Linked DNA regions of Homo sapiens: all the other regions are linked to region 4. The links are contacts of gene promoters, found by promoter capture Hi-C in blood cells and fetal thymus (Javierre and others, 2016). All regions are on one chromosome and are shown on one strand. The core of a region is centred on a gene start or on the middle of the fragment in contact, and the rest is flanking DNA. Distances in the headings are between cores, read along the strand shown. Region 1 overlaps PTDSS1 (phosphatidylserine synthase 1). Region 2 has its middle 77 kb from the start of SDC2. Region 3 has its middle 110 kb from the start of PTDSS1. Region 4 holds the start of TSPYL5 (TSPY like 5). Region 5 has its middle 90 kb from the start of PTDSS1. Region 6 overlaps PTDSS1 (phosphatidylserine synthase 1). Region 7 overlaps PTDSS1 (phosphatidylserine synthase 1).

Region 1 (3,206 bases), core at 619-3,118, 990 kb before region 4:
ACATTTATAAAATATTATAAATCCCTTAGAATTAATATTATAATATTATAAATATTATAAATTGGATCACTGAAATCCCGTTAGAGGCAGTTTTTTGTGTAATTGAAAAGTTGCTGCATTTCAAAATATTGATTCTATTCAAAAATATGTCTTTAAGCTTCAATACTGGGTTGTCTTGAAGCAGCAGTCTTTGGCTAATTAATGCTGACCCAGCTTTTCTTCTGCATAAGACACCATCCCATGCTGGTGGGAGTGGGGGAGAGGGTGGGCATGTTCCCTGTCCTCTTAGAGCTTAGAGTCTACTAGAAGGCAAATTAAACAAATAATTGTTGGCTATTGAACCCTAAGACAATTTCAACAGCTTTTTAGAATTTTATTATGAAAAATTTTAAACCTATGCAAGAGTAGAGAGAATCTATAACTTCATGTACCCATCACCCAGTGTCAGTATTATTGACACAGGCCCAAACTTGTTCCACCTTTTCATCCCACATCCTGGAATATTTTGAAACAGTTCTCAGGAATTAAACCTAAAATAGATGGGCTTTTCTTTTTTTTTTTTTTTTTGGCATAACCACTGAACAGTGAACAGTACGCAGTGAGTGTTGACATTTCTGCAGTCGCTTCGTAAATGTTCTGTATAGTTGATTTATTCAAAATAGGATCCAGACAAGGTTTACACATTGCATATGATATGTCTTTTAAATCTCTTTTCATCTGTAATTCCCCTCATCATGTCCTGAAAATTTATTTGTCAAAGAAACCACATTGCTTATTCTATAGGGTTTTTCACATCTGGATTTTGCAGCTGCATTTGCAGTATCATCATTTAACATGTTCTTTTTGTCCCCCTATATCTTCTATAAAGTAGAACTCAGGTGTAGGGGCTGGATGAGATTCTAGATTCCAGATCAGTTTTTATAGTGGGACTGCTTCATAGCTGGTGCTGCGTATCACACTAGGAGGCACACAGTGTCTGGTGGTCTCGCTTTTTATAATGTTAAGATTGGTCATGGCTTTGTGAGGTCAACATCAGTTTTAAGATGCACCATCAATTATAGGTATGACTTTTTGGAGGAGAAAAAAAGAAACCTGGGGCTGAGCATGGTGGCTCATGCCTGTAATCACAGCATTTTGGGAGGCCATGGTGGGCAGATCATAAGGTCAGGAGTTTGAGACCAGCCTGGTGTTTGAGACCATGTTTGAGACCAACATGGTGAAACCCTGTCTCTACTAAAAATATGAAAATTAGCTGGGCGTGGTGGCACGCACCTGTAATCCCAGCTACTCGGGAGGCTGAGACAGGAGAATCATTTGAACCCGGGAGGCGGAGGTTGCAGTGAGCCGAGATGGTGCCACTGCGCTCCAGCCTAGGCAACGCTGTCTCAAAAAAAAAAAAAAAAAAAAAGAAAAGAAACCTTATATTTAAAGTGCTATACATTGTAATATATTGAAATAGTCACCCTAATTCTCAAAACAATACAGTGTGAAAAAGACGTGTCATAGATTCAAGGAAGCACGATAGTTAAAAATGGTACAGTCTGTGTAGAGGTCCTGATTGGGGGTGTGGGGAGCTGGGACCAGTCTGAGCTGGGACCAGATCATGAGGCAGAGGGCCCTGCCTGAGGCTAGGAGGCTGCCAGGGCTGAGCCAGCTGGGATGAGGAGTTTAGGTGTTATTCTAAGTGTATGAAAAGGCCATGGAAGGTTTATAAGCAGAGGAGCTACATGACCTGTGTTGATGTTTTAGGAGGTCAATCAATAAATACCTCCATTTCTAGTTGAGTTTGGAAACAGAAACAAGAGTTCAAAATCTCAGCTGATTTCTTCCTGTGAAAGCTCAGTGGAGCAGATTGCTTTAGACCTGGGCTGAATTAAGCAAGCCTGTCTTCCCCTAGCCCATTAGACAACCACAAGCTGCTTCTGCAAAGCAGGGCCTGACCCACAAAAATTGCTGCATGGCTGGGGGAGCTGATGAGAACCTGTGCTGTCTGTAAGCAAATAATTTCCAAAGAGGACCCAAAAGAGGTTGGATCTCTTTCTTCTTCCAAAGTCAGCAACTGCCCCAGAGAGGAGTGAAGAGATAGTTGGGCTGGAGACCTGGCGTGTGTAGTAGTGGAGATCCTTCTACATTGGGACGGGCATGCTACCCAACCCCTTTCTTCCCACCTCCTGCCCCAGACACCCTTACACACATGCATGCACGTTCCGTGATCTGATTATGATTTTCAAGATCTCTCTGTAGTCGTAAGCTAGATGTGAATACCTAGGTGCTTATTATAGCATCATCTATACTTTGTTATATGCCTGACACATTCCACAGTTTTCAAAAGCTATTATTATGGAAGTCTAAGCAAGAAATAATAGTGGCAGCGAGATGCATAAAAGAACAACCTGGGGAGGTAAAGTGAATAGGACTTGGTATTTGGTTAGGTGTCCAGCAAGCAAGGCAGAGGGTAAGGCCGCCAAGATCAGCCTAGGACCAGTTGGGAAGTCAGCAGAATCTGTCTTTACCCATCTTTTGCTCACAGGCATGCACCTGTCCACTTGACCCCCTTTCCAGGCTTCAGCTCTACACTGTCTTCAGTTAAAGCCTGTTCCTCCTGGTTCCCAGGGTTCTGCCTGCATGCAGCTCTCTGGCTGCTTTAAACTGCAATGCCCTGTGGCCCTTCCAGGACAAGGACCTCAGGTCTTATGAGGGGATAATTGGCAAATCTGTTCATTACTAACTATACTGCAAATAGACGGATTGGTCTTTATGATTTTTAAAATGCCTTTCCGCATGTCAAAGCATAGAGCTACTTAATAGAGTGTAAAGTCCTCCAGAGTTATCTGCAAGCTGTGATTACTTTAAGAGCAGCCTTCTAAAAACAGATCTTACCCCTTCCTTATCTAACCCTACACAGTGTATTCCAGAGTAAAGAAGAGGGTGGGGTGGTTGAGACATTTGAGGTTGACTGGACGTGGCCCTGCTCCTTAACCTAATATACAACCTGCTTCAGCTAAGGGCATTTCCCTCTGTCAGCCTGTGATTCTCTGTGACAAGAACGTGCTGTTCCAGAGTCCGGGAAGAAACTTTTCATCTTATTGCAGGGCAGTTTGTTTCTTTTAAAGCCTTATCTTGACTTACCCTATTGAATTTTATCCTCTTTTCTCCAGATTTCCCATTTACACAGCATAATCTCACATCATACTGCTTCTCAAAAA
Region 2 (3,468 bases), core at 639-3,138, 860 kb before region 4:
ATACAAAAGTTGGCTTGGCGTGGTGGCCCACGCCTGTAATCCCAGTTACTTGGGAGGCTGAGGCAGGAGAATCGCTTGAACCTGGGAGGTGGAGGCTGCAGTGAGCTGAGATCGCAGCACTGCACTCCAGCCTGGGTGACAGAGTGAGACTCCGTCTCAAAAAACAAAAAAACCCAACACTCAGATTAATAAAGACTTCAGTAAGGTGGCAAGGTTCACCAAAATGCATATTAAATTAATCATTTATCTGCTATAGCATATTCATCAAGAAATATATATGAGAAAAATATTTAATTTTAGTGATAAAAATCTATAAAATTTTTTTTGTTTTTGTTTGTTTGTTTTTAGACGGAGTTTCGCTCTTGTCCCCCAGGCTGGAGTGCAGTGGCACAATCACAGCTCACTGCAACCTTCACCTCCCGGGTTCAAGTGATTCTCCTACCTCAGCCTCCTGAGTAGCAGGTACTACAGTCACCTGCCACCATGCCCCGCTAATCTTTGTATTTTGGGTAGAGATGGGGTTTCACCATGTTGGCCAGGCTGGCCTCAAACTCCTGACCTCAAGTGATGCGCCCACCTTGGCCTCCCAAAGTGCTGGGATGACAGGCGTGAGCCACTGTGCCCAGCTAAAATCTATAAAACATTGAGGGATAAATATAAAAGAGAGGTACAGGACTATGTGAAAAACAATCCTATGGGGAAAAAACATAAACAAAATAGGGATACATTTTAATACTATGCAATTTGTTGAGAGGAGTTAATCTCATAAAAAATTTATTCTCCAAAAAATTAAAAACGTAATGCAATCCCAATCATAAACCCAGCAGATTTTTAAATTCTAAGAAAGTTTTGTATTGAAGTACAACATACACAGAAAAAGCAAATCCCTCTGCCAAATAAACAGTTGAAAAAGATGCTCATGCTCATCAGGAGTCAGCAAACTACAAATTAAGTTTACAATGGAATATGGCTTCATGACTATAAGACTACAAAAAAATTAAAACGAGGGGTAGCAACGGTTGCTACTAGGGATGAGGGTAAAAAGTACTCCATATTTTGCTGCCGAAAATATGTTTCAGCCTTTTTGAAAGCAATATACACTAAATTTTAAAATACACATGACTTTCAACCCTGGAATCCATTCAATAGAAGTAAAAGCATTGGTATATAAAGATATATATTGTACAACAATCTTGCTTCATTGTTTAGAGGGACAGAAACTTAAAACAGGAAATATCCATCAATAGAGAAAGGGTTGGATAAATTATGAAGGAGCCTCATTATGGATTACAATGCTGCCAACACAAATAATGAATCTGAAACATACCAGGGGACTGAGAGGAACTTCTATGAGATATTTTTGAATGAGAGATAGAAGATGCAGAGAATACATGATCCAATTTTTCCAAAGCAAGCAATGAACCCAACAAAAAACTCAAATATGTAGAGAGAGAGAGAGAGAGAGAGAGAGAGAGAGAAAGTACATGTACTTAAGCATGCATGCATAATCACATATCAGATATTATATGAGCAATAAGAAAATTTAAAAACTGTTAGCATCTGGTTATTTGGGAGTAAAGAACTGGGGGAAAGCTGGTGTAGACACCAGAAAGGACAAAGGTGGGAGGCTTCAGGGAATGTTTGGAGAAGAATGAGTAGTTCAGCTTGCTTCAGGGGTTGAGGTAACCCAAAGCTCACACCAGGCTGCTGGTGGGGTCCTCTCTTGGAGGATACTGAGGTCAGACTCTCAGTCTTAGAGCATATAGGTGCAGGATATATCACAGAGTGCGTCCCACCCACCAACATGTAACCTGGTAAGATCAGGTCATTAAGAATACCAAGGTACCAAAGTCACTGTAGGAAACCTGGGAGCACAGAGCCTAATGTGGTGGTGGGTGAGGCACTCCTACAGGTCTCCTGCCCTGGGGGCCATGGCTGTACAGAACCCAAATAACCCCTTGGGTCCACCTGACCCAGTTTTGCTAGGTTAAAGTCTACAAGTCAACAGTTATTAAAAATATACTCCAATCTTCACTTCCGTCCCTTGACAAACATTAAGGGATCAAATGCATAATCCACATCAACACACCTTAAAATACCCTTACCTGGAGCGATGGAAGCATTTTGGAATGAGACAGAGGTGGTTGGTTGCGCAACATTGTGAATATGCCAAATGCCACTGAATTGTTCCCGTAGAGCTGGTTAACTTTATGTTATGTGAATTTCTCCTCGATAAATTATTTAGAGGAGAAACAAATCCATTTCTCTCCCAACCTAAGACTGCTTTTGTATCTCCCTCTCAACTCTACAAAGAATGCTCCCCAAAGCCCAGCCCACAAGCCAGTCGGTTTAGTTTCCCTCTCTCTTCCTTCCTATGTTTCTTGTCCTGTCTCTCTGTACCTACTCTTATGCCGCATCTTGAAATCCCAGGAGACAGGCTGGCAAACACGGAGTTCTCCATATGGGGGAGGAAGGAGAGACCCTGAGAGGGAAAAGACAGCTTTTTGTTTAACAGAAGGTGAGAATGGGCGAGGCAAAGGCTGGAATTATTCAATCATAAGTTTTGCTTTCCCATATGTGAGCCTAAGGGACTTCTTGGGCTGTCCACCTTCTGCAGCCTGACTTCCCTCATGTCCTGAGTGGCTGTCCCCGCCTGTCACAACAGCTGTTCTTGGCCCACTGAAAGCCAAGGCCCTGCAGTGGTGAGCCCCCTACTAAAGAGTTACTTTTGAATAGGGACAAGGTACCCCTCACTGAAGTGGTTACACTCCTCACCCCCCATCCTGGGGGCTTCTCTTGCCCTCCCCTCCTGGACTCTGGAGGAGGCAGGGAGGGACAGGAGAGCTCCACGCTTGGCAGCACACTGTCTCACAGAACAGGTGGTTTCGTTTATTTTTCTCCATTTGATTTACAAAATTGTACCCTTTACTAAAACAGCCTTGGGGCTTAAGCACAACAAGTACATGCACAATGAGATGACATTTAATTACAGAAATATAAGCAGGAGACATCATGATGGAGCAGCAGAACTTCCTGCGAAATAAACATTCACGCAGCTCCCCATATTTGGCTGCTCAGCAGCTGAGAGAATGAGGAGACAGAAGGGTCTTCTGCTTTCACCTTGATCACCTACAGATGTCAGCAAGGCCAGGGATAGGACCAGTCTGTAGGGTCCAAAATGTACAGCCCCAGTCCCTGCCTCTCTTCACTCTGTACTTTAATGGGGGTAGGGGGTGGAGGGTGGTGGGGGCGCTTCTCTGGGCTTTTTGCTTCCTTTCCCTGCTTGTTTTAGGGAAGCAATCTACTAGTATTACTAGTACCAAATAAAAGTTCTAGGCCGGGTGCAGTGGCTCACACCTGTAATCCCAGCACTTTGGGAGGCTGAGGCAGGTGAATCACCTGAGGTCAGGAGTTTGAGACCAGCCTGCCCAACATGGAGAAACCCTATCTCTATTAAAAATACAAATT
Region 3 (3,309 bases), core at 740-3,239, 910 kb before region 4:
TATCCCTGCTATTACCCTATTATAGCCACACCACCTTATCGACTGCATCTCCTCCTTCCAACACCCGTCTCAGCCCCTGGCAACCCCTCCTCCATTCTCCATGTCTATAATTTTGTCATTTCAAGAATGTTATATAAATGCTGTAATCAAGTATGTAACATTTTGGAATTGGCTTTTTTTTACTCTGCATAATTCCCTGAAGCTTCATCCAATTTGCTGTGCACATCAGAAGTTCGTTTCTTTTTATTGCTGATATTTTTTACCACATGGATGTACCATAGTGTGTTTAGCTATCACCTGTTGAAGGACATCTGGGTTGTTTACAGTTTTTGGGCTACTACCAGAAAAACAGCCATGAACACTTGTGTGATAAACACCTAGGAGTATTTATCCAGAGAAATGGAAACATGTTTACACAAAAATATAGGAGAGATACAGAAGAGATACAGTTATAGGAGAGATACAGTTTATCCACATTGACACTGGCATTTGGTGTTGTCACTATTTCTTATTTTAGCCATTCTGTTGCATAGTGATATTTCATTGTGATTTTAATTCACATTTCCTAATGACTAATGATGTTGAACATATTTTCAAATGCGTATTTGCCATCCATATATCCTCTTCAGTAAAGTGTTTCTTCATGTCGTTTTCACATTTTCTGATTGTATTGCTTTTGTTTTATTTTTTAGTGTTAGGTTTTGAGAGATTTTTATGTATCTAGCTACTAGCCCTTTGTCAGATATGTGGTTTGTAAATATTTTCTTGCTCTCTGAAGCTTGTCTTTTCACTCTCATAATGGGCCATTTTACACAGCAAGAGTTTTAAATTTTGATGAAATCTAACCATTAATATTTTCTTTTATGGGTCAGACTTTTGATGGCAAATCTAAGAACTTTTTGCCTAGCCCTAGATACCTATGATTTTCTCCTGTGTTTTGTTTTCTAAAAGTTTTATAGTGTAAAACTTTTAAGCCTGTGATCTATTTTTGAGTTAATTCTTTAAATATATGAGATTTAAGTTGAGCTTCATTGAAAAGGCTATCCTTCCTCCACTGAATTGCTTTTGTACCTTTTGGTTGGGCATATTTTTGTGAGTCTGTTTCTAGGTTCTCTATTTGTTTCATTGATCTATGTGTCTATCACTCTGTAAATACGACAGCTCTATAATAAATCTTGAAATCAGGTAGATTGATTCCTCCCACTTTATTATTCTTTTACAAAGTTATTTTAGCTATTCTGGTTCCTTTGCATTTTCATATAAATTTTAGAATAATCGTGTCTATATCTACAAAAATCTTGCTGGGATTCTGATAGGAATTGCATTAAACTTCTATGTAAATTGGCAAATAATTGACTTCTTTATTATATTGAATCTTCTAATCCACAAACACACTATGTTTTTCCATTTATTTAGATCTTCTTTGGTTTATTTCATCAATGTTTTGTAGTTTTCTGCCACAAAACATGTACAATTGAAGTCCTGTACATGTTTTGTTAGATTTATACTTGGGTTTTTTTAGCAACTGTAAATGGCATTTATTTTTTATTTTGGTGTCTGTTATGGACACCATATACTACCTTCCCAGCTGGTAGTATTCCAGCATAGCTAGACTTCTCAGGAAAGACTGATGGGGTGAGAGAGAATTAGGAGATCCCTCTTGTGGTGGTCTAAGGTCCATTTTCTAAGATTCCAAATTCCTGTATCAAGTACTATAACTTCCATCTGTTATGGATGCCAAAATAAAATTGACTTTTGTATGTTTGTATTACATCTTGCAACCTTGAGGAACTCACTTATGAGTTCTAGGAGGTTGTTGTTTTGCAGATTTCATGGAATTTTCTACCTAAACAATCATTTCATCTGCAGATAGGGACAGTTTTATTTTTTCCTTTCTCATCTGCATGCTTTTTTTTCTTCTTGTACCTTTTGAAATTGGCCAGAACTACCTGTACTATGTTGAATAAGAGTGGTGAGAGCAGACATTGTTGCCTTGTTCTTGATCTTATGGAGAAAGCATTCAGTCCTTCACCACTAAAAACAATATTAGCTAGAGCCTTTTGGTAGACACTCTTTATCAAGTTGAGGAAGTTTCCCTCTAATCCATTTTTTCTAAGAGTTTTTATCATGAATACATGTTAGATTTTTTAAAATGCTTTTTCTGTATCAGTTGACAAGACCACATGATTTTTCTCCTTTAGCCATTAATATGGAAGATTACATTGAATAATTTTCATATATTGAATCAGACCTTGCATTTCTGGAACAAACCTTCCTTGGGAGAGTGGAGAGGACCATTAGGGAGTGCTTTGCTGGGTTTTTAGCCACCTGGTACAGGATGGTGAGAAGTTCAACCAGGAAAGGTAGGAAAAAATTTTCACGGTGAGGTTAACAAGTACAAGAGCACTGACACATGAAACTGGCTTTCTTTTTCAATGCAAATATTTCAGGATGGCAGGAATGTTGAGCCCAAGAAGGAGAATGGCAGGATATAAGGCTAAGATATAGGAAAGGCAGAGCTCCAAGAGCTTGTATGCCATGCTCTGGACCTTGGCCTTTCACCTCAAGGTGGTGGCAACCACTGTGAGGCTGGATGCAGAGAATAATCCAGTAAAGATTGCCTTTTAGAAACCCAGTGCAAAGGGTAGACTGGAGAACAAATCCTGGAGAGGGGGACCCAACAGGGATACTATAGGAAGAGTTCAGGAAAGAAAAGATAGAGTCTTAAATTACTGAACTTGTTATCTTCCTTCTTCAAATGCTTCTCTTCTGAGCTACTGACTTTCCTCATTCACCCTTCTACCACTCCTACTGAAGGTCATCTTAGACTCTTCTTTTTCATTTCTTCTACATCCAATCAGTAGAGACTATGTCTTCATTCTCCCTGCCCCTTGGCTCTACTTGCTGCCATCAACTCAGAGAGCCTAAAGTATTCATACTCTCCTCACTAGCCTTTACTTCTTACTTCTGTGTTTCTTCCACCTCCAACCCATTCTCCATCTTTGCTCTTGCTTTCATCTTTGAAATTCCCTGTTTCGTTTGTTTGTTTGTTTGTTTTGTTTTTTGGAGACAGTCTCGCTCCATCGCCCAGGCTGGAGTGCAGTGACATGATCTCGGCTCACTGCAACTTCCATCTCCCAGGTACAAGTGATTCCCATGTCTCAGCCACCCAAGTAGCTGGGATTACAGGCACATGCTACCAAGCTTGGCTACTTTTTTGTTGTTGTTGTTGTATTTTTAGTACAGACAGAGTTTAGCTATGTTGCCCAGGCTGGTCTCAAACTCCTGAGCCCAGACAATCTGCCCGCC
Region 4 (3,421 bases), core at 862-3,361:
GGGGCTGACAGCAACCCAGACAAAACTTAATGGCTTGATAGTGACACGGCATGGCGCAGATCTTGATGAAAGTTCACCAGTAGAAGGGCCCAGAAGCAAGAAGAGACACATGATGGTACAGAACACATGGCATACTGTTTCTTGCCCTTAACTTCATGCATGCCCAGCAGTCAAGTGCCATTCTGCAGAACATCAAGCAGGATGGGTATCACAGACCACAGGCCAAAGCCAGAAATAAAGCAGGTGACATCTCAGCTGGTGACCCCAGACCCACAGAACAGGAAGTTCTGGCTGATGACTAATACCATGTGCACTGGCTTCATTCTGCAGTGGCAATGGAAACGCTTGCATAGATGACATGCATGGCCAGCATGAACACGAAGCCCAGCAAGTCACTGGCCCTGAAGGAGCAGAGCTTGAGGATGCACTGGTCGTCCTGGAGGATGACTCATGAGTGTCCATGTTAAAGACAAGTAGGAAAGGCCAGAGCCAAGAACAAGGTCCAGGCAATGTAGATAACAGGGAGCACACATCTAAAGTATGTGTGCTTAACATATGAACAGTCCGGGTGCGATCACATAACATGTGACACTAACGTAGAAAAGCAAGAGGCTATGGGAGGCAAAAGAACATGATCATAAATGCCATATTCTTGTAACTAAAGTCCAAAGGGTCTATAGTACACAGAGGCCAACATGAAGAGAAGGCAGAGAGCCAAATATGTAGTCAACCAGGAGCAGCCCAGCAGGAGGTAGCAGGGAGACTTGTGCAGGATCAGTTGGATTGGCTCACCCCAGGCTGAGTAGTCTCCATTGGCTGCTTTCCTGGACCTTGCCTGCCTTCTTTTTCCTTTCCTTTCTCTACACGAGCCCCTTCACTCAAAAGGTAGAACTGCAAGGGATTGGGCCACAATTCTTCGTTGATTATCTCCACAATCTTGTCAGACTCAATGGAGCTGTGGTTTGAAAACCACCCAAAGAAACTACGGTTGTTTTCTGGGTTTCCCTGGCTTAGGGACTGGAGATCATGCCCTGGGAGCCACTGGATTGGAGTAGAACGAGACACCACCTGGCCAGAAGGACCACACCCATATTCCTTGATGAGCACCTTATTTTGGAAATACGGGTTGCGATCGAAGTAGAACTTGATTTTGTAGCCCAATCTGGCAAGGCCGAGCTCTTCCACTTCCAAGCTGTTTAAGTAGCTCAGTACCTCTTTCTCTTGGCTATTCAGAAAGGATGCTAGCTGGGGATGGTTCTGAAATGCTTGCCCCCAGAAGCCCGGGATATTTTGGATGAGGTGGTTCCTGCGCTCCAAGTGCTGCAGTCGCAACTGCCCAAACTTCCTGGAGAGCCGAAGGTAGGCCCTGTCCGCCTGGGCGTTCATGTTCTCCAGCTTCAGCTGCACGTTCTCCAGCGTATCCATGCTGCCTTCCGTCGCTGGGGGCCCCGACCCTGCATCCCTCTCTTCCTTCTTTTCCTCCCCAGCTGACACCGAGGTATTCTCCCCTGCCGCCCCTTTCTTCTGCCTCCCACCAGCTATGACCTGAGGCCCCCTCCCCGCGGTGCTACAGGTTTCTGGGGCCTTCTTCCCGGCAGGGCCACGCCGGTTTCCAACGCGGGGGGCATTTTTCGGCCTTCCCACGGTTCCCGCTGTTCCCACGAAGACAGTGTCTGCGGCCAGGCGCTCCGAGAGAGATGCGGCCTTCCCCGGGCCGGGCCTGGCCGCGGCCTGCCCGTGGTCCCCCGCAGCTCGGGCCCGCAGCGCGAGGCCACAGTCCAGGGGGAGCCGGCAGGCGGCCTCCTCCCCGAGCCGGAGGAGCTGCGCGGACGCAGCGGCTTCCAGGCCACCCCACCCCGCGCCAGCCTGCACCTGTGCCGCCTGGGTGTCTTCCCCGAGACTCTGGTACTGTGAAGGGTCCGGGTCGCGCGGGGCGTCGTCCGGAGCAGGGCGGACTCGGGCTTTGGCGCGGCCTTTGCCCCGGTTTTTGGCGCGGGAGGACTTTCGACCCCGACTTCGGCCGCTCATGGTGGCGGCGGAGGCAGCTTCAAAGACACGCTGTGACCCTGCGGCTCCTGACGCCAGCTCTCGGTCGGGACCGAGCGGGTCTCTCCACGGCAACCGCCGACGTCACGAACGTACAACTGTACCGTCGCGAGAGGACGTGATGCGCCCGGTGATTGGCGCCGCCGCTGCGGCTGCGCAGGAGACGACCCCCGCGGGCGCTCCCACCCCCATCTCGCGCGGACTCGCTTTAGGTCTCGGCGAGTTTCTCTGATATGCGCTCGCGGGGGTGCTGCCATTTCATCTCTTCCGCGCGGGCTCATCGTGCTCTCAGGGTCTCGTTGAACAAGGCAACGCTAAGAGCCATCACCACCTGTCCCCCATCACCTGTTTTCTAAACTAAACATCTTCAGCTCCTCCAGTTATCTCTTGTGGCATCTGTCATGAAGAAAGTGCTCGGGCGTGTGTGTCTCTCTTTGAACACCTTTGCTGAGGGATTTGCTCTGGTACCTTAACTCCAGAGAACGTAAAGGTGGATGCTATAATGCCGGGCGTCAAAGCGATTTGGTACGCAGTAAGATGATAGTAGAAATTATAAAAATAATGGCAACTAGTATTTTGTATCATTTGTGCCAGGCACTTTACTAGGTGCTTTAAATGCATTATCTCAATTTACAAAGGAGGTGTTGATATCATTCCCATTTTCGAGATAAGAAAACTGCATCTCAGAGACACCCGGGCACATTCCCCAGGTTACACAGTAAGGGATGGAAGCACAATTCAAACTCAAGCCCATGGGACTCCGTATCCTATGCCTTATATTTGGAAATGGCAAGTCCTTCCAGACTTGTTCCACTGTCAATTACTGGGCTGGCTCTTAAGAAATCAGCCTTGCTCCTTAACAAACAGGCTTCCGTGGACCACCTGACCACCTCTTCTGCCTGGGAACATCACCCGAGTCCCCCAGCTGCCTCAGTTTACAGATCTGGACTATCACTCTAGGTATAGGACCAGAAGTGAAGACCTGTATTAGAGCTCCTGTAATTGGAGTAAGACAAGAATGTGGTGAGAGGTGAAATTATTATTCAGGGAGCAGATTGAGGTTCAGAAGCAGAGCCTCCACGTGGCACTGCAGAAGCCCTAGAAACTTCTTACACTGTGCATGGAAACAGCCGGACAACCTCCCCCACAGTCCCGGAGGCAGCCCTGGACCACGCTCTTACTAGTGAGGTAATAGGACCATGAACAGTGAGGGGACCTGTGGCTAATGTAAAAATATAAAGAAAAACCTTTTGAGGTGGTCTTTTCAGGCTCAAAGGGAACAAAAAGGCCCTTGTAACCAGCTAGTGGAGAGATAAGCCCAAAAGCCCCGGGACCTCATTACTCAAAGTGTGGTTGTGGACCAGCAGCCTGATAT
Region 5 (3,524 bases), core at 844-3,343, 930 kb before region 4:
GGTGGTGGGCGCCTGTAATCCCAGCTACTCAGGAGGCTGAGGCAGGAGAATTGCTTGAACTCAGGATACGGAGGTTGCAGTGAGCTGACACGGTACCATTGCACTTCAGCCTTGGCGACAGAGTGAGACTCCATCTCAAAAAAAAAAAAAAAACTTGTGAAACTAAACTCTTACCCATTAAACAACTCCCCACTTGCCACCCCTCCTCGTTCCCAGCAACTGTCATTCTATTTTCTGTTTCTATGAATTTAACCACTTTAGATACCTCGTATGAGTAGAATCACACTTATCTTTTTTGTGTGACTAACTTATTTTTCTCATCGTAACATCCTCAAGGCTCATTATTATTAACCTCAGCGGCATTATTCACAACAGCCAAAAGGTGGAAGCAACCCAAGTGTCCATCAGTTAATGAATAGGTAAACAAATATAAACAAATTGTAGTACATCCATACAATGAAATATTGTTTGTCCATAAAAAGGAATAAGGTACTGACATGCCACAATGTGGATGAACCTTAAAAACACTATGCCACTTGAAAGAAGTCAGTCACAAAAGGCCACATGTTATATGATTACATTCATATGAAACTCCAGAAGAGGAAAACCTGTAGAGACAGTAAGTGGATTAGTGGTGGGCAGTACTAATGGGAGACTGAGGCAGGAAGATTGCTTGAGCTCAGAAGTTCACTACCAGCCTGGGCAACATAGCAAGACCCCGTCTCTACAAAAAAAAAAAAAAAAAACAACCAAAAAAATTAGCCCAGCATAGTGGCATGCACCTGAAGTCTCAGCCACTGAGGAGACTGAGGCAGGAGGATGGCTTGAGCCTAGGAGATTGAGGTTGCAGTGAGTCATGATTGTCCTCCTGCACTCCTGCCTGGGTGACAGAGCAAGACCCTATCTCAAAAAAAAAAAAAAAAAAAAAGTAGATTAGTGGTTGCCTAGGACTACAGGGAGGGGGCAGTGGAGGTGGAGTGATAGCTAAAAAGTACAAGAGTTCCTTTCTGAACTGATAAAAATGTTCTAAAATTGACTGTGGTAATGGTTACACATATCTGTGAATATAGTAAAAACCACTGAATTGTATACCTTATTTTTTAAACCACTGTATTGAAGTATGACTGATATACGAAAAGTTGTATGTATTTAATGGGGATAAGAATACACTCAAGAAACCATCACCACAATCAAAGCCATAAACTTATCCATCACCTCCAAAAGTTGCCTTCTGCCTCCTTTATGTATTTATTTATTTTAATTAAATTTTTTTCTTTTGTGGCAAGAGTACTTAACATAAGATCTACCTTCTGAGGAAATTTTTAATTATACAATACAGTATTGTAACTGTTGGCTCTATGTTGTACAGTAGATCTCCAGATTTATGCATCTTGCATATCAGAAACTTTGTACCCTTTGAACAATACCCCCCCAATCTTCCCCACCCAGCCCCTGATAACCACTATACTACTCTGATTCTATGAGTTTGACTATTATAGAGTTGTCATAAAAGTGGGGTTGTGCACCCTTTGTCTTTCTGTATCTGGCTCATTTCATTTAGCATAACTTCCTCCAGGTCTATGTTGTTGCAAATGAGAGAACTTCCCTCTTTTTTAAAGTCTGACTAATATCCTACTGTATGTATGTACCACATTTTTAATCCATTCATCCATTAATGGACACTTAGGTTGATTCCATATCTTGGCTATTGTGAGTAATGTTGCAGTGATTATGAGAGTACAGATATCTCTTCAGAATCCTGACTTCAACTCCTTTGGATGTATACTCAGAAGTGAGATTGCTGGATCATACAGTCATTCTATTGTTAACTTTTCAAGGAAATTCCATACTGTTTTCCATAGTGTTTGCACCAATTTACATTTCCACCAACAGTGTACAAAGCTTCCCTTTTCTTCACACCCTCACCTTTACACTCACAGACTGATATCTTTCGGAGTTTTTTGATAATAGCCATTCTAACAGATGTGAGGTGCTAGCTCATGACTTTGATTTGCATTTCCCTGATGATTAGTGATGTTGAACACCTTTTCATATACTTGTTGTTCATTTGTATGTCTTCTCTCGTGAAATATCTATTCAAGTCCTTTACCCATTTTTACATAGGGTTATTTGTTTTTGTTTTTGTTTTTGTTTTGCTATTGAGTTGTGTGAGTTCTTTATATATTTTGTATATTAACTTCTTATCAGATAAATGATTTGCCAATACTTCCTTCCATTCTGTAGTTTGCTTTTTCACTCTGTTGGTTGCTTCCTCTGTTATATAGAAGCTTTTTAGTGTGATATAATCCCATGTTTCTCTTTTTGTTTTTGTTACCTGTGTTTTTGTGTCATATCCAAGAAATCATCGCCAAGTCCAATGGCTGGAAGTTCTTTCCCTGTTTTCCTCTAAGAGTTTTATGGTTTCCGGTTTTACATTTAAGTCTTTAATCCACTGTGAGTTGATTTTTGCATGTGGTGTGGAATTGTGCACTTTACACGGGTAAATTGCACAGTACATGAATTATGTCTTGATAAAGCTGGTTTTTAAAGAAGACCCACACGTGGGAGCAGCACTGAGGGGACCTGGTGCTGATTTGGAGGAGGATTCGGCCTCTCATTTCTGTTTTCTCTGTGCTTCTGCTTCATCCTTCTTCCTGTCTGAGCCGGGCTTTCTCTACTGGCTCTCTCTCTGCCCAAGGAGAAAAGTGGCTTACTCTACATTCCAGCCAGCTGCAGTGGCCATTAAGTAGAATCTCTCACCTGATTTCCAATTTCCTGGACAGAGACGTGTTTACCCAGCGTGGTCAGTGCCAGGAAGCAGGGCTGCCTGGTTCTTGCAGCCAGCACCCCCCTTAGTAAAACTGTGCAGGGTTTTTACTGTGCAGAGGAGCAGTTCTGATCCTCAGAGGTAACAAAAGTCAATTTTCAATGTTTTCTAGACAGAACCACCATGCAGTGAGCACCTTCCATGTGCCCTGTACTGTGTCAACTCCTTTCACCTTTCTAACCCCATTTAATCTCTGCTCGACACTGTATGAAAGCATGTGCTGACTCAAAGAAAACATTCTCAATTGGGTTCAACTTGTGGCACATGCATAATGTCATATCAAGGCCACAGCTGGTAAAATCATCTACCCAAGGGTAGCAAGGGGCCTCCTGCAATGGGATTACCAGCCACAGAATCTGGTTACCAGAGGGTGGTGTATTTAGCTCACCAAAACACAGGGCTGGGGCTTACTCATGGTTAGTGAGCCACCGCAGCCAAAAGAGAGGTGTTTCTAAAATGTGCTTTAAAACCCAATCTACTGGGAAGAGAGTCTGTTGCAAAAACCTATGTGGTTTTCGAACATTAGTAATCTGTGTGTGCCTTATTTAGAAGTCCTCTTTGGCCTTTGGTTATCCAACATCACTCTTGAGAAAGAATGGGTGCTAGTTCCTGAGGCTGAAGATGGGGAGTGAGACACAAGGAAAATCCACATTTTTAACTTAATCAGTGTCTGTGGAGTAGGCAGAATCCAAATCCA
Region 6 (3,261 bases), core at 419-2,918, 940 kb before region 4:
CTAACATACACTCTGCTGAGCTGCTGGCCGCCCTTTTGGGGAAAGTTTCTCCTGAACCACGGAATTGATCAGTGAGCGGCCCGTTGTGAAATCTGATAGAGATGGACAGAGGGGCTCCCCAGCTATCTTATTTAGAACCATGCCCTTACAAACAACCTTGGCACTTACAGGTTCTCCACTGAAGAGAATTAAGCAGTAGTAGAGATGTATTTACTTGATGGAATAATAAAAAAAGAAAAATAACAAAAACAGAAGTCTTCTGAGTGGGGAAAGAATCTCTTAGTCTAAGTCAAATGCTCCTTACAGTGGAGACTGTAACTCTGGTAACTTTTTTTTTGTTGGCAGCCTCAGGTGGAGATTTCCTATGGGGCTGGATCAGAGCCCTGGGGCAGAGAACCCTTTGGCTTGGCCGCTAGGCCAGGCAGGGGCTGAACAAAGGCTCAGCTGGAGGGCAGAGGCTGCCCAGTGCCCTCCATCGTGGGCAGCAGGGGCCTGAATTGTAAAGATGTTCTCCAGATCAAATGTAGAGGGTGTGAAATAGCTCTGATTTTATAGTGTCAAGAGTCTTTCCTGATGTCGGGTTTAGAAGGTGGTGTGGAGCAGGTGAAGGGATGGAAACCCTTGGTTGCAGGGCAGGATGGGCACCGCGTGGTGTGTGTTTTAATTGCCCCTCGTTTGGGCTTCCGTTTCACTTGTGCTCTCACTTCTGGTCCTCACCATCATGACCATGTCCATCATACACAGGACAGATGTACACACGCTTCAGGAACCACCCAGACTTTGGGGCGCTATTGCGTTGAACCCCGCGCCACCGCGTGTGCTCCTTCAGTACTAGTTCTGTGTTTGAGAGCCTCGCCTTCATTTATGAATGAGGCCACTAGGGGGAGTGCACGTATCAGGGAAGAACCTGTTCCCCGGCAAGCCTAGGGCGGTCTGGAAAGGGACAGTCACCAATCTCCAGAGCCCAGGGTGACGGTGTGCTCTGATTCCTTTGGCCAGGTTCTGAAGACAGCCCACCCAAGCATGCAGGCAACAACGAAAGCCATTCTTCCAGGAGAAGGAATCGGCATTCCAAGTCAAAAGTCACCAATGGCGTTGGAAAGAAATGAAAAACCCTGGTTAATCAAAGATGTTCCAGAGTGCCTAGAACTGAGAGGGAAATGGAACTCATTTGGAACTCCCCGTGAGGAGGTCGAGGCGCACAGGGCAAGCAGGAAGAGGCGAGGGCACTTGGGGGTCATTATTTGAGATCGTAAGTCTTGTTTCCCACAGACCTGGCCGCGTCAGGCAGATCATCGCCTGGGGGGCCTTTGCCAACGTGGGGTCTCTTCTAACTTCAGCACTTGACATGCGGTCACCGGTGGCAGCGCGGTGTGTTGAAGGGAAACGGTAGCTATTCATTCACAGTTGCCAAGAGCAGCTCCGCGCCTGCTGGATCGTGGATGCAGCGTAAACATCTTCCTTCAGACGAGGCATTAACCCCATGGTTAATGGACTGGTCACCAGTTTTTATTTTATTTTTATGAATCTACCTTTCCATTGATTGATTTAAGTTCAGGCCACTTTTCTGTCTTTTATTTGGTTACTGTTGTTATTTGTTTTTAAGTTAGGATGCTTTTTAACAGCCTTTAGAAGCCGCTGCTGAAATTGATACTGGGGGAAGGGTTCCCCTTCCTTCTAGAGCAGAAAAGGGAGAGAGGTGTTGTATTCCTGTTTGGTAACCTCAGTCTCCTGTAAGACCTCCTACCACATGGCGAGTATACACCAATCAGGAGAGGGTAGCTGCCTGCATAGGAGCCTCGCTTCCGATTATTCCCTTCCCAATATTATTCATCCAGACTTAGCCACAGTGCACAAAAGCAAACCTGCTAGAGAGGCAGTGAACACCACAGCTTCTCCCCAGCTAGGTGCCTTTTACATCGGGTTTGTTCTCCTTCCATGGTGTGTTGCTGACATTGTCACTGAGTCCCATGTGAGGTGCTGGTGAGTATTACCTTTCATCTGTGCCATGCTCTAGAACCTTGACCTTGATAGTTCACCACCTCTGATGGATCCCTGTTTTAAATAAAAACGATTCACTTTAAAGCCTATCAAAGGTCTGTCTGTAAAATGCTCATTTTCTTGCATCTTACTGGTATCTTCTATTGATTGTAAGCAGTCTGTGTTTTTCAAGTGACTTTAGGATAATATATATGTGTTTTACATAGTGAGAAGAAAAAAGAAAAGATGTGTATTTTAAAGGGCTTACAGACATATATGTCCTACTTCTTAGACTACCCAAGTGACCAACAGGAATGAACAACATAGTCATTGTTTTTTCCTGTGGTAATGGTTTCCAAGTTGGACTTTTTTTTCCTCTAACAAGAGGCCAGTACCCAGTTGATTAGCTTACAGATATCAACTCACTGAAAGTAATCTTTTGTTCCCTCATTTCACACAGCACAAAGGTTCGTTCTGATGTTTCTTCTTCTTTAAGGAAATCTTTAGCCATAGAAGTGTCACTTTTTTTTTTTCTGCAAAAGAATTCCAAGATGAACGGGTTGAATGAATCATGCCAGCCAGGGTCACATCCTGTCCTCAGGGGGCCCAGTGCTCAATAGTAGATTCTGCGGGAGTGGAGAAGCGTCAGTGGCAGCTCCGCTCACTTGGTGAGTGAGGGATTTGGCTGTGATGAGCCTCAGCTCCGAGCTCTCAAATGTCCTCCAGCCAGCATCTGCCTGCTTCCCACAAAAGGATAGAAGAGAGGCAAAGTGCGTGTTTCATAAAACCTGCCTGCACTTTTATAACCCATCAAAGAGGCCATTTTTAAACACAGGTACAATTTAAACATGATCTTTCTTTGCAAATAAATATGTTTTGTTTCATCCTGTGTTCTGCTTTTCTAAGCATGACATACTTGTGCCCATTGGAGAAGACACCTGTCTCTTCTTTCTCACACCGGTGGTGCCTCACTGAGTGTTTCCGGGTTCATTTTCCGGGAGCACTGGGCCTGACACTTTCACACTCTTCTGACTTTCGCCTTGTTGCAACTGATGGAGCATGTGTGCTTCCTCTGAGGCCAGCCTACAGGAGGCAGCTGTTTCGCAGGTGGTGAATTCGACTTTACTGTGGCATTGTGAAGAGCAGGGTGCACAGGAGATGATTTTTTCTCCATGGCTTTGTAAGAAACAGCCAGGAAAGTTCTCAGATACTTTCCATGCCCTTTCTTTGAGTTGAAACTTTCTATTTCCCTTCAGTCAGAGCTCTTTACTATAGTAGTTA
Region 7 (3,571 bases), core at 293-2,792, 960 kb before region 4:
CCACCTCAGCCTCCCAAAGTGCTGGGATTACAGGCGTGAGCCACCACGCCTGGCCTACAAAGCTTTTTTTTAGCAGCCGATCCCCTTTCTTCAAATGGCATCTTGCCCCAAATCCTACTAAGTATCTAAACGAGTAAGCAGAACAGTTCTGAGTTTGCCATCCAAGACCCGCTTCTCCCCTTCCCTCCTTGTGCCGGGGATTCTTTGGAAGTTAGAAAGTTGACAGGAGCACAATAGGAATTGTATCTATTGTTTATGCCACACTTAGCTCTTGCTTCCTCCAAAAAGGTGTCTTTGCCCACCCTAATCAGAACTAGAAGCTCACTCCTGAACTTGGAGGACCCTTCCTGGCATCCTGTGTGATTGTGTGGTCATTGAGTTAACATGGATACACATCTCATTTCCACTATTGGAGGCTGGGCCCTGGCTGCCAGGAGAGGGGGTCTCCCACACTCTCAGCCATCCAGGGATTGCTTGTGCAGCCATGGAGCAGTGCGTGTGGGATGCAGCAGCCAGGTACCCGGCCTCCATGTCCATGGCATTCCTGTGGCATCCTCAGAATCCACGTGCAGGCTTGTTGGCAAGCCAAAATCTCTTCTTCTGCTTCTCAAGTTTGGCTCATACACCCAGCTCACACACACGAGCCTAGAGCTTTCATGCCCCAGATTCCTACAACAACCCTGCCACCATGCCTGTTCCACTCAACTCACCGAAGAGCTCCTGACTCTGGGCTCTACATTAACATCATCTTTTTTCCCACATTGTGGAACTGGCTCCACAAGTCGGGGGTGCTGGGAGTATGTGCACCAGTAACCAGCCCTAGGTCAGGAATCTCTAGTGCCTGCTCCCAGCAGAAGCACCTCAGGCTGCCCAAATGTTTATTTGCCTTTTAACCCTGCTAAACCAAGATACAGGATGGTGGATGGCATCAAAGGGAGTGGAGGCCCTGACTGAATTCCATTAAGCCACAATTTGTCCACCTAGCTTAGCCTGGGAAAGATCAGAGAGATTTAAATTGAACTGAGTAAAGGGACCTATTGCTGAGCTGTGCGGAGGAAACCCCAGCACCCCTGGGGGTGAGGAAGTAGGAGGAGGTATGTGTTCTCACACTGGCAGGCTTAATACAGGCTCCCGCTGTGCTGAAGCCTCCAGCCTCAGCCCTAAACTAGCCACTCTTTGAGTCTTGGTAGAAAAGTAATGTCAGCCTTCTGGAAGGGTGCTGTTGATTGGAACTCCCTCCAGTGGGCCAGAGGTAATGGTGGGGGCGATGGCTGGTGGTTAAAGGAGCCCATGTGATCGTTGGGTTCCTACCACTTCTCACCATCTCCACAGCCCTGACCCGGGTCCCCATGTCTGGATGAGTACAGTAGCCTCCCTGCTTCTGCTCTTGTCTTCTCACAGAGTTCTGTTCAGCCAGCAGAAGGTTCTCGAATGTTCATCACCATGCTGTTCACAATAGCAAAGACATGGAATCCACCTAGTGCCCATCAGTGGTGGACTGGATAAAGCAAATGTGGTACATAGACACCATGGAATAATACACAGCCATAAAAAAGAATGGGATCATGTCCTTTGTAGCAACATGGGTGCAGCTGGAGGCCATAATCCTAAGCAGGAAAAGAAAACCAAAAACCGCATATGCTCACTTAAAAGTGGGAGCTAAACATTGAGTACACATGGACATAAACATCAGAGTAATAGACACTGCTGACTACTAGGGAGGGAGGAAGCGGGGCATGGGTGGGAAAACTACTTGCTGGGTGCTACGCTCACTACCTGGGTCCAATATACCCATGTAGCATTCCTACACATGTACCCCCTGTATGTAAAATAAAAGCTGAAAAAAATTTTAAAAAAACATTAAGCAAACTGGCCAGGCGAAGTGGCTCACTCCTGTAATCCCAAGCACTTTGGGAGGCCAAGGTGGGCGGATCACGAGGTCAGGAGGTCAAGACCATCCTGGCCAACATGGTGAAACTCCATCTCTACTAAAAATACAAAAAATTAGCCAGGTGTGGTGGCACACGCCTGTAGTCCCAGCTACTCAGTAGGCTGAGGCAGGAGAATCACTTGAACCCAGGAGGTAGAGGTTGCAGTGAGCTGAGATTGCACCACTGCACTCTAGCCTGGGTGACAGAGTGAGACTCCGTCTAAATATATATATATATATGTATGTGTATATATATATGTGTCTATATATATGTGTGTATATATATATGTGTGTGTGTGTGTATATATATATGGAGAGAGAGAGAGACAGAGAGAGAGAAGACTGTATTAAACCCTCTGCTCTAGACCCTCTAGGATCCCCTCAGACTAAAAGCCAAGCCTACGGGTGGCCTTCCAGGTCCATGTTACCCTGACCTCAACTCAGCCCTTTCCCCTGATTCCTGGCCCTTCCTTGTGCCTTTCCCATGCCCAGGCCTCAGTCTGGGACTCTCCACACTTATGTAATCCCATAGCCGGCCCCCTCACCTCCTCCTAGCCACCTTCTCATGAGATGTGCCCACACACACGGACAATGGCTTAGCTAAGACTCCTCAGCACATTGGCACAAATCATATCCTTAAGTTGCTAACTCAAAAGCACGGTCTTCAGAAAAACTTCAGGTTGACCAGGTGCAGTGGCTCATACCTGTAATCCTAGCACTTTGGGAAGCTGAGGTGGGTGGATCACTTGAGCTCAGGAGTTCGAGACCAATCAGGGTAACACGGTAAAACCCCGTCTCTACAAAAAATACAAAAATTAGCTGGGCGTAGTGCCGTGAGCCTGTAGTCCCGGCTACTCGGGAGGCTGAGGTAGAAGAATTGCTTGAGCCTGGGAAGTGGAGGTTGCCATGAGCCAAGATTGTGCCACTGCATTCCAGCCTGGGCAATGGAGTCAGGGCCGGTCTCAAAAAATTAAAACAAAAAAACAGAAAAAACTTTAGGTCATTATGAAGCCAGTGATTGGGTTCTGGCCAGTATTTTCTTAAAATGAAACAGAATAGAAAAATATCAGAATAAAGATGCAAATTGTCTTATGAAGCTTTTGTTTCAGTGTGTGTGTGTGTGTGTGTGTGTGTGTGTGTGTGTGTGTGTACACGCATGCGTATACTGGATCACAGTGAAAATTGTGTTTCTTGCTATGGTTCTTAATGGGTCTTAGATCACAAAAGTTTGAGAAACACAGCTTTAGTCGGCCAATCAGCATGCTTTTAAAAGGGCCCTCAGGCTGGCTCATGCCTGTAATCCCAGCACTTTGGGAGGCTGAGGTGGGTGGATCATTTGAGATGAGGAGTTGGTGACCAGCCTGGCCAACATGGTGAAACCCCGCCTCTACTAAAAATACAAAAATTAGCTGGGTGTGGTGGCAGGCGCCTGTAGTCCCAGCTACTCGGGAGGTTGAGGCAGTAGAATTGCTTGAACCGGGAGGCGGAGGTTGCAGTGAGCCGCGATTGCACCACTGCACTCCAGCCTGGGTGACAGAGCTAGACTCTATTTAAAAAAAAAAAGATAGAGGGCCTCAAGTCTAGTTGAATATTCAGAAATCTTTCATAATAAACTCAGGGTGTTCTGTCCGGCTTATGGGT

The links. Contacts are between HindIII fragments. The CHiCAGO score rates a contact against its expected background, and 5 or more counts as called.
Region 1: a contact is called between a fragment that was not itself captured here and the fragment with the promoter of TSPYL5 in region 4, in 1 of 17 cell types (neutrophils). The highest score is 5.1, in neutrophils.
Region 2: a contact is called between a fragment that was not itself captured here and the fragment with the promoter of TSPYL5 in region 4, in 3 of 17 cell types (monocytes, neutrophils and erythroblasts). The highest score is 8.7, in monocytes.
Region 3: a contact is called between a fragment that was not itself captured here and the fragment with the promoter of TSPYL5 in region 4, in 1 of 17 cell types (neutrophils). The highest score is 8.1, in neutrophils.
Region 5: a fragment that was not itself captured here is called in contact with the fragment with the promoter of TSPYL5 in region 4 in 1 of 17 cell types (neutrophils); the score reaches 7.3 in neutrophils.
Region 6: a contact is called between a fragment that was not itself captured here and the fragment with the promoter of TSPYL5 in region 4, in 8 of 17 cell types (megakaryocytes, M0 macrophages, neutrophils and 5 more). The highest score is 9.4, in megakaryocytes.
Region 7: a fragment that was not itself captured here is called in contact with the fragment with the promoter of TSPYL5 in region 4 in 1 of 17 cell types (neutrophils); the score reaches 5.0 in neutrophils.

The regions. Positions count from the first base shown.
Region 1 is chr8:96,290,903-96,294,108 of GRCh38, forward strand. All of the region lies in intron 4 of PTDSS1 (phosphatidylserine synthase 1), which reads left to right. Among named protein-coding and RNA genes, the nearest start is that of PTDSS1, 31 kb to the left of the region's middle. The HindIII fragment of the contact is 3,426 bases long and covers 156-3,206 here.
Region 2 is chr8:96,414,945-96,418,412 of GRCh38, forward strand. No RefSeq gene overlaps it. Among named protein-coding and RNA genes, the nearest start is that of SDC2, 77 kb to the right of the region's middle. The HindIII fragment of the contact is 5,596 bases long and covers 1-3,468 here.
Region 3 is chr8:96,367,587-96,370,895 of GRCh38, forward strand. No RefSeq gene overlaps it. Among named protein-coding and RNA genes, the nearest start is that of PTDSS1, 110 kb to the left of the region's middle. The HindIII fragment of the contact is 2,426 bases long and covers 777-3,202 here.
Region 4 is chr8:97,275,817-97,279,237 of GRCh38, forward strand. TSPYL5 (TSPY like 5) reads right to left here and starts at 2,112. Exons shown (of 1, transcript NM_033512.3): 1 at 1-2,112. The coding sequence starts at 2,028. The coding sequence ends at 775. All of the region lies in intron 2 of LOC101927066 (a long non-coding RNA gene), which reads right to left. RefSeq lists an enhancer at 1,149-1,650. The HindIII fragment of the contact is 4,352 bases long and covers 1-3,421 here.
Region 5 is chr8:96,350,435-96,353,958 of GRCh38, forward strand. No RefSeq gene overlaps it. Among named protein-coding and RNA genes, the nearest start is that of PTDSS1, 90 kb to the left of the region's middle. The HindIII fragment of the contact is 386 bases long and covers 1,901-2,286 here.
Region 6 is chr8:96,332,458-96,335,718 of GRCh38, forward strand. It overlaps PTDSS1 (phosphatidylserine synthase 1), which reads left to right. Exons shown (of 13, transcript NM_014754.3): 13 at 1,000-3,261. The coding sequence ends at 1,109. Among named protein-coding and RNA genes, the nearest start is that of PTDSS1, 72 kb to the left of the region's middle. The HindIII fragment of the contact is 3,661 bases long and covers 1-3,261 here.
Region 7 is chr8:96,314,841-96,318,411 of GRCh38, forward strand. The region is part of intron 9 of PTDSS1 (phosphatidylserine synthase 1); the gene reads left to right. Among named protein-coding and RNA genes, the nearest start is that of PTDSS1, 55 kb to the left of the region's middle. The HindIII fragment of the contact is 2,965 bases long and covers 61-3,025 here.